Regions from separate parts of the Homo sapiens genome. Here region 1 is linked to region 2. The links are contacts of gene promoters, found by promoter capture Hi-C in blood cells and fetal thymus (Javierre and others, 2016). All regions are on one chromosome and are shown on one strand. The core of a region is centred on a gene start or on the middle of the fragment in contact, and the rest is flanking DNA. Distances in the headings are between cores, read along the strand shown. Region 1 has its middle 25 kb from the start of GIMAP4. Region 2 holds the start of GIMAP1 (GTPase, IMAP family member 1).

Region 1 (2,736 bases), core at 71-2,570, 170 kb before region 2:
CAGTTCTTACATTGTGATAAAGAATTACCTGAGACTGGGTAATTTGTAAAGAAAATAGGTTTAATCAGATCATGGTTCTGCAGGCTGTACAAGCATAGTGCTGGCATCAGCTCAGCTTCTAGGGAGGCCTCAGGGAGCTTTAACTCCACTAGGCAGTGCCCCAGTAGGGATTCTGTGTGGGGCTTCTAACTCATTTCCCCTCCAAACCCTGCTATTAAAGGTTCTCTGTGAGGGCTCTGCCCCTGCAACAGGCTTCTTTCTGGGCACCCAGGCTTTCTCATACATCCTCTGAAATCTTGGTGGAGGCTGCCAAGCTTCCTTCACTCTTGCATTCTGTATGCCTGTGGGCTTAATACCACATGGAGGCCTCCACAAACTCTTCCAACCTCTGCCTGTTACCCAGTTCCAAAGCTGCTTCCACATTTTCAAGTATTTTTATAGCAGGGCTCTATTCATCAATACCATTTTTTAATGTGACAATTTTGTTTTGATTTTTTAAAAAATGAGTCTGTTGATTTAATCAGGGCTTTGGGGTCATAAGACATTAGTCACTGTCATAGTCATAATGATGCATTTATTCAGGGAAAATTTTAATTTTTTTTTTCTTCTTCAGAAACAGCTGCAGGAACACCTAAAATTAAGCAATGTTCGTCCATAAAACTTTACTGAAACTTGATTCCTTTCACCAGAGGAAGATCCTTACCATAGTTGATGATACAAGTAAACCTTCTCATGCACTATTTCCAGGAGTCATCACCAGATGCCCTGCCACCACAAATGTGCTTTTCTCCTCCAAATGCACCTGCAATCTCAGCTCCGCTCATTGGAATATTGACATTTACAATGCCACAGTTAGATCTTTTAGGTCCAAGCCAGTGGAAGATTCTGCCCAAATCTTTGGTAAAGATGCTACTTGAAATACCCTGTTTTACTTCATTATTTCACACAAAGAGCTCTTCTTCATTCTTAAATTTAAAAACATAGAGAATTGGAGCAAAAGTCTCTGTGTATAGAAGCAGGAACAGACACATCACATGGCAGAGCAGGAACAAGAGAGAGAGAATGGGTAGGGAAGGTTCCACACATTTAAACAACTGGATCTCAAAAGAATGCACTATGACATGAGAGTCTGCCCTTATGACCCAAACACCTCCCCCAAGACCCCACCTCCAACACTGGGGATCACAATTCAACATGAAATTTGGCAGCAACACATATTCAAACTATATCAACTCCCTTTCTGTTGTGCATTCCTCAATCTTGAGGGATATGGGGCAATGGCAATTCTAGCTACTGTTTGCTGACAAGGGGAATTGGTCTAGGTTTGAGGAATAAAACTGTTTTACATTTAATTGTAAATACACATGGGTCCCAGAATGTGGCCAAGCCTTTGGGTTTGGGCTCTTATATTAAAGTAGAAATTTTTTTTCATGATTGAGAAAGATGGAAAGGGGGCATATAATGGCTCAGGAGACAAAGTCCATCAATTTACCCCCTGTATAAGCATGTGTGTGTGCCTGCCCTTGATTTTGGGGATCTGAACCCCTTAAAACTGGCCCTTACAATCTCATGCATCCACCTCTTCCCTGGTAGTCCCTGGGCCTAGAGGAAGGGTATATTGCTAACAGAACAGTGCTTTGCCCCAATGGGATTTTAGAGGAAGGAGATTTGCAGGCTTTGTTGAGTTATTTCTAGTTTTCAGGATACCATTATTCTGGTTTTCTTAGAAAAAGTAAACAATGAGAGATGAATAACATTGTTAATTTTGAGTAGTACAATCAAAAGAAAATGTCTCTGACAGAATGAAAAAAAATCTTATTGAATTAGGAAGCAAAATAAAAACATCATGAAGAAAATTATGGGTCCACCATTACTGAGGCTTGAGAGGGCAGTTTTCCCCTCACAATATGAACAAAGCCACTGGGAAGTTTGGACTGGGCAGAGCCCACTGCAGTGCCTCAAAGCTGCTGTAGCCAGACTGCCTCTCTAGATTCGTCTTCTCTAGGCAGAGCATCTCTGAAAGAAAAGCAGCAGCCCCAGTCAGGGGCTTATAGATAAATCTCCCATCTCCCTGGGACAGAGCACTTGCGGGGAGGGGTGGCTGTGTGTACAGCTTCAGCAGACTTAAATATTCCTGCCTGCCAGCTCTAAAGAGAGCAGCAGATCTCCCAGCACAGTGCTCGAGCTCTGCTAAGGGACAGACTACCTTCTCAAGTGGGTCCCTGAACCCCGTGCCTCCTGATGGGGAGACATCTCTCATCAGGGGTTGACAGACACCTCATACAGGAGGGCTCTGGCTGGCATCTGTTGGGTGCCCCTCTGGGATGAAGCTTCCAGAGGAAGGAGCAGGCAGCAATCTTTGCTGTTCTGCAACCCTCAGTGGTAATACTCAGGCAAACAGGGTCTGGAGTGGACCTCCAACAAACTCCTGCAGACCTGCAGCAGAGGAGCCTCACTGTTAGAAGGAAAACTAACAAACAGTAAGCAATAGCATCAACATCAACAACAAGAAAACAACCATGCAAAAACCCCATCCAAAGGTTACCAACAGCAAAGACCAAAGGTAGATAAATCCACCAAGATGAGGAAAAACTAGTGCAAAAAAGCTGAAAACTCCAAAAACCAGAATGCCTTTTCTCCTCCAAAGGAGCACAACTCCTCACCAGCAAGGGAACAAACCAAGACTGAGAATGAATTTGACAAATTGACAGAAGTAGGCTTCAGAATGTGGGCAAT
Region 2 (2,759 bases), core at 191-2,690:
TTGATAAGTTGTGGTGTTTATCCATAAGTCCTAACTGACATTGATTGAAATCTGCTCCTAGGATATCAGCTCTGACAACTTCAGGCTGCTGCATGCATTACCTACATATACTTTTGTAGTCAGATAAACCCTCTGACAGAGAGTTATGAGTGGCTGAAGTAAGACATCATACACATGCATGGAAACAATAAATGGCCCGGAGCTGTTGAAGAGGCTCTGAAAGCGTCTTTATGAAAGGTACACGTCAAGTATCAAAGACTTATTCAAAGCTGATCTATGTGGCTTGGGCTAGGATGAGGCTAGTGAGAAGCCCTAGGCACCTCACTCTTAAGAAAACACTCACTCCCAGGGTCACCCACCTACAAGATCTGCACTTGGGTGACCTGAGAGTGAGTGCCTCCTTAAGCTGTGTGCTCTAGATGCCCCACCTGCCTCACAATAGCCCCAGCCCTGCCGGTCTACTGGGAGAATGACAGGCTCCCTGTTTCAGCAATGATGAATGGAAACAGTGGACATGTCAGATATCCAGGAGACTCTGTGCCCCCAAAAAGATGGGAAACAGTAAAAGCTGGGTCTCTTCCCTACCAGAAAAAAAGTGGTCTGGCATGAAAGAGGTTAAAAAGCAGATCCTATCCAGTAGGGTAAGACTCGGGTTATTGTCTTCCCCATATACTCCAGAAAGCCAACTCCAGAAAGTTTAAATGAGTTAGGTGAGGTCCTATAGCTGGTTAATGACCTAACCAGATATGCAGCCTGCTCCTCTGTAGCCTTCTTACCACCCAGTGATTCGCTTTTTTGCTGACCTCATGATGCTCTTGAGAGAAGATAGAATAACTAGAACTGGTGATACCAACATAGACGACTAGACTAAAGCCTCCTAATAAGGCTAAATTGAAGATAGTGCGAAGGTGTTCATCCTCAACATACCAGTTCACCCTCAAGTCCTTCAATAGCTGGGAAAGCCCTCCTCTCTCAGAGAATGATAAGACTTTGCCTTCAGGTTTTTCTGGCAGACTGGATCTGGGGCTGGCACTGGCCACATGAATGTCTAATTAATGGACAGATGATGAGAACAGCTATTACGTTATTTGTTCCGGGGCAGGAGACTCTCTGGGCCTATTTTATATGGGGAAATGTCCCTATAGGGCAAAGGCAACTGAAGATTAGCTCAGTAATCAATTTTAGAAGTACAGTCAGGCCTCAGAGACTACAACATCCCTCCCTTCTTAGAGCATGGCAAGATATTTGACATCATGAGGCCCTGCTGGAGACACATAACCTCAGTCACAGCAGAAAGTAGAGTCGGTAGGAGAAGTATTGCCAACCCACAGCTCAATGGGAAATGTTTCTGTCTCTTTAAACCATAACCATGGGGCCCACCCTGAGCTTCCTGATTTCTGAAGTCTGAGTGATTTCCTCCGTGTGCCGAGAGGAAACAGCCTTCTGCACTCACAGCCGAAGGGAAAGCAGCAGGTTGGGGCTTCTTGTGGCCAACTTCAGAGCCTGTCACCAGGAAAGGTGAGCCTGAGCCTGGGAGTGGCGGGGGCTGGGGGTGCTCTGAGAACCAGAAAGAACATGATTCCTAGAGTGTTTACTGCCTGAACACTTGCATTCTACAAGGCATCATGCAGGCGAGCAAGATCTGGAACAATCAAGGACATACTTCCAGGTTTTTAAGTAGGCAAAGTTCAGAGGAAATTTTAGGATCATCTTCTCCAGCTCTGGAGCACACACGTTCTTGGTGGGGAGTGAAATCTGTCTCCTCCCACATTCCCTTAACAAAGTAAGAAAAGAGTGTGCTGGAACCACCTCCAGGAATAAAATACAGTTTGAAAGGCATTAAACATTCCTCAAGCTCCCTATTGAGCAAAGGCAAAAGATATTTCTATGGCCCCATAAGCCATCTAACCTCGGAGTGAGTTACGACGTGACAAGACTGGGTACATTTGAACTCTCCTCCTCACTGTCCACAGAAGGGGCCCCTGAGGAGACATCTGAGATTAATATCTTGGTCTTCAACCCCTTTCCCTGCATGGCCCCTTAAACATCTGCTCCCTTAATTCAAGCTTCTCCTGCTCCAGCCACGGGGACACCTCAAATTCCCATCTGTACAATAAAGGGGGTTGCAAAAATGACTGATGTCCAAGTTCTGAGCTGTGGACATCAGAAACATTTAATTCATGAATCAGAATCTCAGGATGGATCCAAGAGATGTACATTTTTAAAGAACATTCAAGTAATTCTGAGAAGCAGCACATTTGAGCGGTGAAGAACTCAATAAACTTTGCGGTCTCTTAAAGTGTTAGGAATACAGGATTCTATAAGTGTACATTCCTCAATGATTAAGGGCCATTTGTCACCTCAGAGTTCAGCTGGGTCTTACTTTCCTTTAAAAAAAAAAACTATTTAAAATCATTTCAACCCCTCTTCTAAACTATGGAAAATTCCAAAGGCCTATCCAGAATTCTGCAGCACTGGAAAAAGAAATTCTCATTTTCTTGGTTGACAAGGACATTTTGCTTCATCTAAATTCTTTTCTCTGAATCTTGCAACTGTTTCTTCATTTCTGCTTTGATGTCATTTATGATCATCTGTTCATTCCTACATGCAAAATAATTAATCACATAAGGCCCATGGAGTGAATTTTATTGAAGGCTTTGGGGAGGGCCAGTAGAGTTCCTGCAGAAACAGAAACAGCTCTAGATTTAATATGAGGCAAATCTGTTCTCCAAGTCCTTCAATCAAAGACAAGTTACTCA

Evidence for each region. The method cuts DNA at HindIII sites, captures the fragments that hold promoters and counts their contacts. A CHiCAGO score of 5 or more calls a contact.
Region 1: a contact is called between a fragment that was not itself captured here and the fragment with the promoter of GIMAP1 in region 2, in 7 of 17 cell types (total CD8 T cells, non-activated CD4 T cells, naive CD8 T cells and 4 more). The highest score is 15.6, in total CD8 T cells.

What each region holds. Positions count from the first base shown.
Region 1 is chr7:150,541,092-150,543,827 of GRCh38, forward strand. It overlaps the pseudogene ALDH7A1P3. Among named protein-coding and RNA genes, the nearest start is that of GIMAP4, 25 kb to the right of the region's middle. The HindIII fragment of the contact is 2,016 bases long and covers 313-2,328 here.
Region 2 is chr7:150,715,173-150,717,931 of GRCh38, forward strand. GIMAP1 (GTPase, IMAP family member 1) reads left to right here and starts at 1,441. Exons shown (of 3, transcript NM_130759.4): 1 at 1,441-1,518. It overlaps GIMAP1-GIMAP5 (GIMAP1-GIMAP5 readthrough), which reads left to right and starts at 1,441. Exons shown (of 5, transcript NM_001303630.2): 1 at 1,441-1,518. The HindIII fragment of the contact is 9,233 bases long and covers 1-2,064 here.